Linked DNA regions of Homo sapiens: region 2 is linked to region 1. Evidence: promoter capture Hi-C in human tissues and cell types (Jung and others, 2019). All regions are on one chromosome and are shown on one strand. The core of a region is centred on a gene start or on the middle of the fragment in contact, and the rest is flanking DNA. Distances in the headings are between cores, read along the strand shown. Region 1 holds the start of SSH3 (slingshot protein phosphatase 3). Region 2 overlaps LOC107984341 (a long non-coding RNA gene).

Region 1 (3,142 bases), core at 398-2,897:
TCTCTGCCTGAAACAGCAGGGTCACTGGGATATGGGTAACCCCAACACTCCCCAGGCTGCCCCCTGCCCTCACACCATTGCTCCCCAAGCAGACACATACACAGGGCTCCATTCTGCCCTCAGGCGTGTCTCTTCCCCCCACCCCCCGGAGCTCCACATGGGCCCTCACCAGGCGGATGTCATCCTGCGGCCTCAGCAGCTGTACCATGAGGTGCAGGTGCTGCCTCTGCTCCTCCTGCTTCTGGGGACTCTGGGATCCTTGCCCGAAGTCTGTCTGGTCCCCGTGGAGCTCCTCCTCACTCGGGGCCTTCTCTGTTGGCTCAGAACTGGCCTCTGCTGCATCATCATTGTCCCCTCCATCCTGCAGTCCCAGGACAGCCCCACGGAGCACCGCAAAGCTCTGCCTGGCAGGGCAGTGGGCAACTGTCATGGCTCCTCATTCCCCTTAGGGTAGGGGCTCTCAAAGTCTAGCATGCATCACATTCACCTGCAGCCCTTGTCTACACGGATTCATGGGCCCCCACGCGGTCGATAGGTCTAGAGTGGAGGCCTGAGCATCTGCATTTCTAACCCCTCGGCCCCTTGGCAATATTGCTGAGAACCAGTCTTGGGGGCTTCCAAGCTCTCAGCCCCTCTACTCTAGCTCATCTGTGGGGAGAGGGGGCTGCTCCTTTTCCCCTCCCACCTGTTTAACTCAAGTGCTGCTGGGAACATGGTCGGGGACCCAGGAGTCCTCAGGCCCATCATGCCCTCCTGCCGTTCGGCCCGTGGCCACCACCTGAGCCAAAGCCCAGGGCAGTGGATGAGGAAGCCCCAGCTGACCAGGGGGAGGGTGAAGGCAAAGGCCGCCCTACCGCGAGCCCACCAGCCGGCCCCACCGGGAACGCTGCCCCACAAATTTGGCAGTGGGCTTCGCTGCGCGTCCTCCGGGGAGCTTTCTGTCCCTGCAGCTGGAGCCCAGGACGGCCGTGGCCAGGCCCGGGGCAGACGGAAGTGTCTGCGTGGGGGAGGTGGCGCTCACCTTCGCTGGAGTCGACTCCTTCGCTGGACCGCCTGGTCCTGCGGAGAGAGCAGCCCCAGGGCAGGGTGAGGGCGGGGAGGGCTGTCCCCTCCCCTCTCTCAGGAATTCTAGAGTTGGGGGAGGCCAGAAAAGGCGCCAGATGCCAATCGTCTTCCCACCCCAGTCCACGCCCCACCGGGAGGCCCCGTGGAGCCCCGGCCCAAGGCCAGGTCGGCTGGGTGGGCGCCGAGTGTGGCGGGGGGCGCGCTCAGATCGGGGCCTCCGCAGCCCGGGCGGCGCGCAGGGCTCTGGATTGTGCCCCGGCGCCAGTACCAGAGACCCTCGAGGCCCCCAGCGCCCTCCAGCCCGAGCCCCGGGGCCCCCTCCTCATGTCCCCGTTCGAGAGGAGCCCGCTGGCGGGCAGGACGCGCTCCCAAGCCGGGGCAGCAACTGCGTGGGCGGCACCACGGCCGGACCACACTCACCCAGGGCCCCACGGGCGTGGAGGCGCCGCTGCCCGGGGGCGAACGGCTCACTGTGACCAGGGCCATGGAGCCAGGCCGCGAGCACCTGGGCTGGCACCGGGCACGGCCCCTTCCCTCAACCCCGCGGACAGTCCTGGACCCGCAGGACCAGGAAGGACGGACGGCGCCACCCGGGCCTGGCACCTCCTCGGGGGCGGCCCTTAAAGGGCCAGACACTCGCCCAGCCGGGCCCGCGGAGCTTCTCAGGGCGGCCGGGCCCCGCCCCTCCGGTCTCCGCTGTTCGGCCCGCCCAGCCCCTGGGCACAGGTCAGGGGCGAGGCCGGGGGCGGGCGCAGGTGCGGAGCCCGGAGACCCGGAGGGCAAGAGCTGAAGGCCGGGAGTTTGGTCCCCCTCCCAGGAAGCGCCCGGCCCGGGCCGGCCCAGCGGGAGCACCTGAGCTGTTCTGGGCCTCCAGCGTCCTGTGCCCTGCAGAGGCGGGTCCTAGGGAGGCAGAGCTGAGGTGGGGAGGTGGGGGACAGGTCTAGAGAGGATCAGGCACGGCGCGCCCTCGGCCAAGGGCCCCCACCCCAAACATTTCTCCCTGCTGGTCGGCCTTCTCGTTCCCACTCCGCAGGAACCACTGGAAGACAGGCTTCCGGGGAAAACGGCCTGGGGTTTACAAATAACCCAGGAAGCCCATGAGGGGCTCTCAGGTCCACCTCGGAGGCGAGCAGGGCAGGGCTTCCAGCTACGCAGGCGGAAGTGACTTGCGCAAACCCACCCGCAGAGAACAAGCCGCAGTCAGGGCCAGGGCCTGGGCTTGGCTGCAGGGGTCGGCGTCGGGGCTCTTCCCAGCTGGAGGTGAATGGTGCCTGGGGACCCAGGCTTTTCCTCCCCAGCAGGCACGTGGGCCGGTTTCCAGAAGACTAGGCTGGGTGGCAGGACGAACCGGGTCCCCAGCAGGTGGGACAGGGCACAGGGGATCTGACTTTCACAGGACGCCTGCTTGGTAAGGACACGTGACTCTCGCCAGCTCCTTTCAGCCCTGAGGGGCGGAGGGTGGGGGGTGGTCTCCTCATTTTACAACTGAAGAAACTGAGGCTCAGATAGGCTAAGGGGACCATGACCAGGATTCAAGCCCAGGTCTGAGGCCGCCATCCACAGTGCCTCTCCACAGCGCCCCACCTTCAGGGTCCCCACCGCTCCAGCCCAGTGAGCAGAGCAGCCCTGCTGCGACAGTCTCTTTATTTCCATCTCAGTCTCCCCTGCCTGCTCATTCCTGGGGCTCCAGGCCCCAAGCTCAGCAGCAGAGAGTTTATAAATAAATAAATTACAAAAGCGGGCAGGGAGTGGCCTGGCCAGCCCTCCCGGGGCTATGGCTCAGTGCTCAGTGAGTGACAGCTGCAGGATCCGCTGTAAGTCCTCCTCCTCCTGCTGCCCGCGCCGCTCCCGCTCCTCCTGCTCCCGTGAAGACAACTCCAGGGCCAGGCGCAGCTGCTCTTCAAAGCTGGGTGGACCGGGGGCTGGGGGTGTCCTGGGAGGGGATCCTGGGCCCCTGGGCTCTGTGGACAGCTGCAGGCTTTCCTGGAGGGCCCTTCCAGGCAGGGCAGGGGAGGGAAGAACAGGCCAGTGAGCGCCAAGGCTGGGGCAGAAGCCGAGGGGCTGGGGACCGGCTTTG
Region 2 (2,889 bases), core at 64-2,563, 190 kb after region 1:
ACCTCCACCTCCCGGGTACAAGCAATTCTCCTGCCTCAGCTTCCTGAGAAGTTGGGATTACAAGCACCCGCCACCATGCCTGGCTAATTTTTGTGTTTTTAGTAGAGACAGGGTTTCACCATGTTGGCCAGGCTGGTCTCAAACTCCCTGTCTCAGGTGATCCGCCCCCCTCTGCCTCCCAAAGTGCTGGGATAACAGGCATGAGCCACCACACCCGGCCCTCTTCCCTATCCTAACTCCTGGTTTCTCTCCCCGACCCCCGACCCTGGTGTCTCCGCTTTCTATTCTTCCCTCTTCCCTGACTCCAGCTGCCTCTTTCTCCTCATCACCTGCCTCCTGAAGTCTCTTTCTTTCCAGCCTTCTCTCCATCATTTGGCCCACCCCCTCCTCCATGTTCATCTCACTCTCCTGGCCCAGTATCATCTGACTGAATGGCTTTCCCACTTTCCTTTACCATCCATTTGTTGCCCTTAATCACCTCAATCCCGTGCTCTCTGATTTTGTTACTTAACCATTTCCTGAACATCTCCCTCCACCCGCACCCCCCACCCCGGGAAAAAAGAAAAAAAGAAAGAAAACTTCTTCTAGGGTTAAAGGGTGTTGGGGGGTGATTATAAGCTTTAAGTGATAGAAAGTTTTCTTTTTTTTCTTTTTTTGAGTTGGAGTCTCGCTCTGTTGCCCAGGCTAGAGTGCAGTGGCGCGATCTCAGCTCACTGCAAACTCCACCTCCTGGGTTCAAGCGATTCACCTGTCTCAGCCTCCTGAGTAGCTGGAATTACAGGTGCCCGCCACCGTGCCTGGCTAATTTTTGTATTTTTAGTAGAGACGGGGTTTCACCATGTTGGCCAGGCTGGTCTCGAATTCCTGACCTGGTGATCCACCCACCTCCGCCTCCCAAAGTGCTGGGATTACAGCCGTGAGCCACCACGCCCAGCTGAAAGTTTTCTTTCTTTTTTCTTTTCTTTTCTTTTTTTTTTTTTTTTGAGTTTGGAACCTGAATTGATCAGGGGGAAAAAAATGAAGCAGAAATGCCCTGCAGATTCTTGGATCATCAAACATGGGTGTCACATGAGGTTCTTGCATGGAATGTGGCTGACGCTTTCCTTGGGACCATGGGACCACCACCCTCCCTGGCCCCATGCTTCCTTGCTGCCATCTTTTCCAGGTATGTCACCTTCCGCTGTGCAGACCCACTGCTCCTGAGCGCTGGGGTGTACTTTGGCTGTTGGGGCAACTGCAGCAGTGTCTGGGCCCCACCTGCTCTTTAGCAGCCTTAGCTTCGCTTTGGGGCCAGGCCACCCTCATTTCTCACTTCTAAAAGGGTGGGACTTCCTGCTGTGCCCGAGAGTGGAGCTCTAAGATGCAGAGCCTGTGCCTCAGCTACACCTGTGCTTGCTGGGGGAAGTTTCTGGCACCCTGGGGTTTCAGGGTCTGTTTGCAACCTTGCACTAGATTCCCAGCTTGGGTTGGTGGTGACAGTCATACAGGGCTCCAGCCACTTCCCCAAAGGGCCAAATGCTTAAGCACTTAGACCTGTTTAGCCCCTCCCAATGAGTCTGATCTTTTTTTATCTTCTTCAAGGGCATTCGCTACCTTTCATCAGTTTCTGCTAAAGCTGGTGTTCCTTCAGCCACTTTGTGAGAGGTTCTGAACCCGTCAGAACTTCAGTTCTCTTTAATAAAACAGAGTAGGCTGGGCGCGGTGGCTTAAGCCTGTAATCCCAGCACTTTGGGAGACCAAGGCGGGCAGATCACCTGAGGTCAGGAGTTCAAGACCAGCCTGGGCAACATTGTGAAACCCTATCTCTACTAAAAATACAAAAATTAGCTGGGCGCGGTGGCACATGCCTGTATTCCCAGCTACTCGGGAGGCTGAGGTAGGAGAATCACTTAAGCCTGGGAGGCAGGCGGAGGTTGCAGTGAGCCCGAGATCGTGCCACTGCACTCTAGCCTGGGCAACAGAGCAAGACTCTGTCTCAAAAAAATATATATTATATATAATATATGTATATAAATATATATAATATATATAAAACATAATACATGTATATAAATATATATAATATATATAAAACATATATTTAAAACATATATATTTTATATATATAATGTATATAAATAAAACAGAAGTAGTGACTCCTGCCCTGTTTCCTCCTAGGATTGTTGTGGAGTGAAATGGACTAATGGACATGAATACCCTTTGGAAACTAGAAGACAACTTATTTTAGAAAGGATTTCTGAGGTCTTGCACAGTGCCTCATGCCTGTAATCCCAGCACTTTGGGAGGCCAAGGTGGGCAGATCACCTGAGGTTGGGAGTTCGAGACCAGCCTGACCAACATGGAGAAACCCCATGTCTACTAAAAATACAAAATTAGCTGGGCATGGTGGCACATGCCTGTAATCACAGCTACTTGGGAGGCTGAGACAGGAGAATCACTTGAACCCGGGAGGCAGAGGTTGCAGTGACCCGAAATCGCGCTTTTGCACTCCAGCCTGGACAACAAGAGTGAAACTCCATCTCAAAAAAAAAAAGAAAAAAAAAGGATTTCTGGTTTTCCTATTTTTAAAAAATTTTTTACTTGGTAATTTTTTTTTTCATAGAAACAGGGTCTCACTATGTTCCCCAGGCTGGTCTCGAACTCCTGGCCTCATGTGATACTCCTGCCTTGACCTCCCAAAGTGCCTGGGATTACAGGCATGAGCCACTGCACCTGGCCAGTTCTCCTATTTTAAATTTATTTTTATTTTATTGTGGTAAGAACACTTGATGTGAGATTTACCATTTTAACAAAGTTTTAAGTGTACAATGCATTGTCCAGTTTCTTTTTCTCCTACATGTAGGATTTGGGTACTTACTGAGTACACTGTGCCCAATGCTAAATTAAGTG

Evidence for each region. The method cuts DNA at HindIII sites, captures the fragments that hold promoters and counts their contacts. A contact is called where the count stands out against the background at its distance.
Region 2: a fragment that was not itself captured here is called in contact with the fragment with the promoter of SSH3 in region 1 in 3 of the 25 tissues and cell types used here (IMR-90 fibroblasts, dorsolateral prefrontal cortex and lymphoblastoid cells).

The regions. Positions count from the first base shown.
Region 1 is chr11:67,302,035-67,305,176 of GRCh38, reverse strand. It overlaps SSH3 (slingshot protein phosphatase 3), which reads right to left and starts at 1,647. Exons shown (of 14, transcript NM_017857.4): 1 at 1,486-1,647; 2 at 1,022-1,059; 3 at 170-404. The coding sequence starts at 1,551. ANKRD13D (ankyrin repeat domain 13D) reads right to left here. Exons shown (of 15, transcript NM_207354.3): 15 at 2,693-3,058. The coding sequence ends at 2,845. RefSeq lists enhancers at 1,460-1,979, 1,980-2,497. The HindIII fragment of the contact is 10,588 bases long and covers 1-3,142 here.
Region 2 is chr11:67,111,924-67,114,812 of GRCh38, reverse strand. It overlaps LOC107984341 (a long non-coding RNA gene), which reads left to right. Exons shown (of 2, transcript NR_160735.1): 2 at 2,158-2,521. Among named protein-coding and RNA genes, the nearest start is that of KDM2A, 5.9 kb to the left of the region's middle. The HindIII fragment of the contact is 5,381 bases long and covers 1-2,889 here.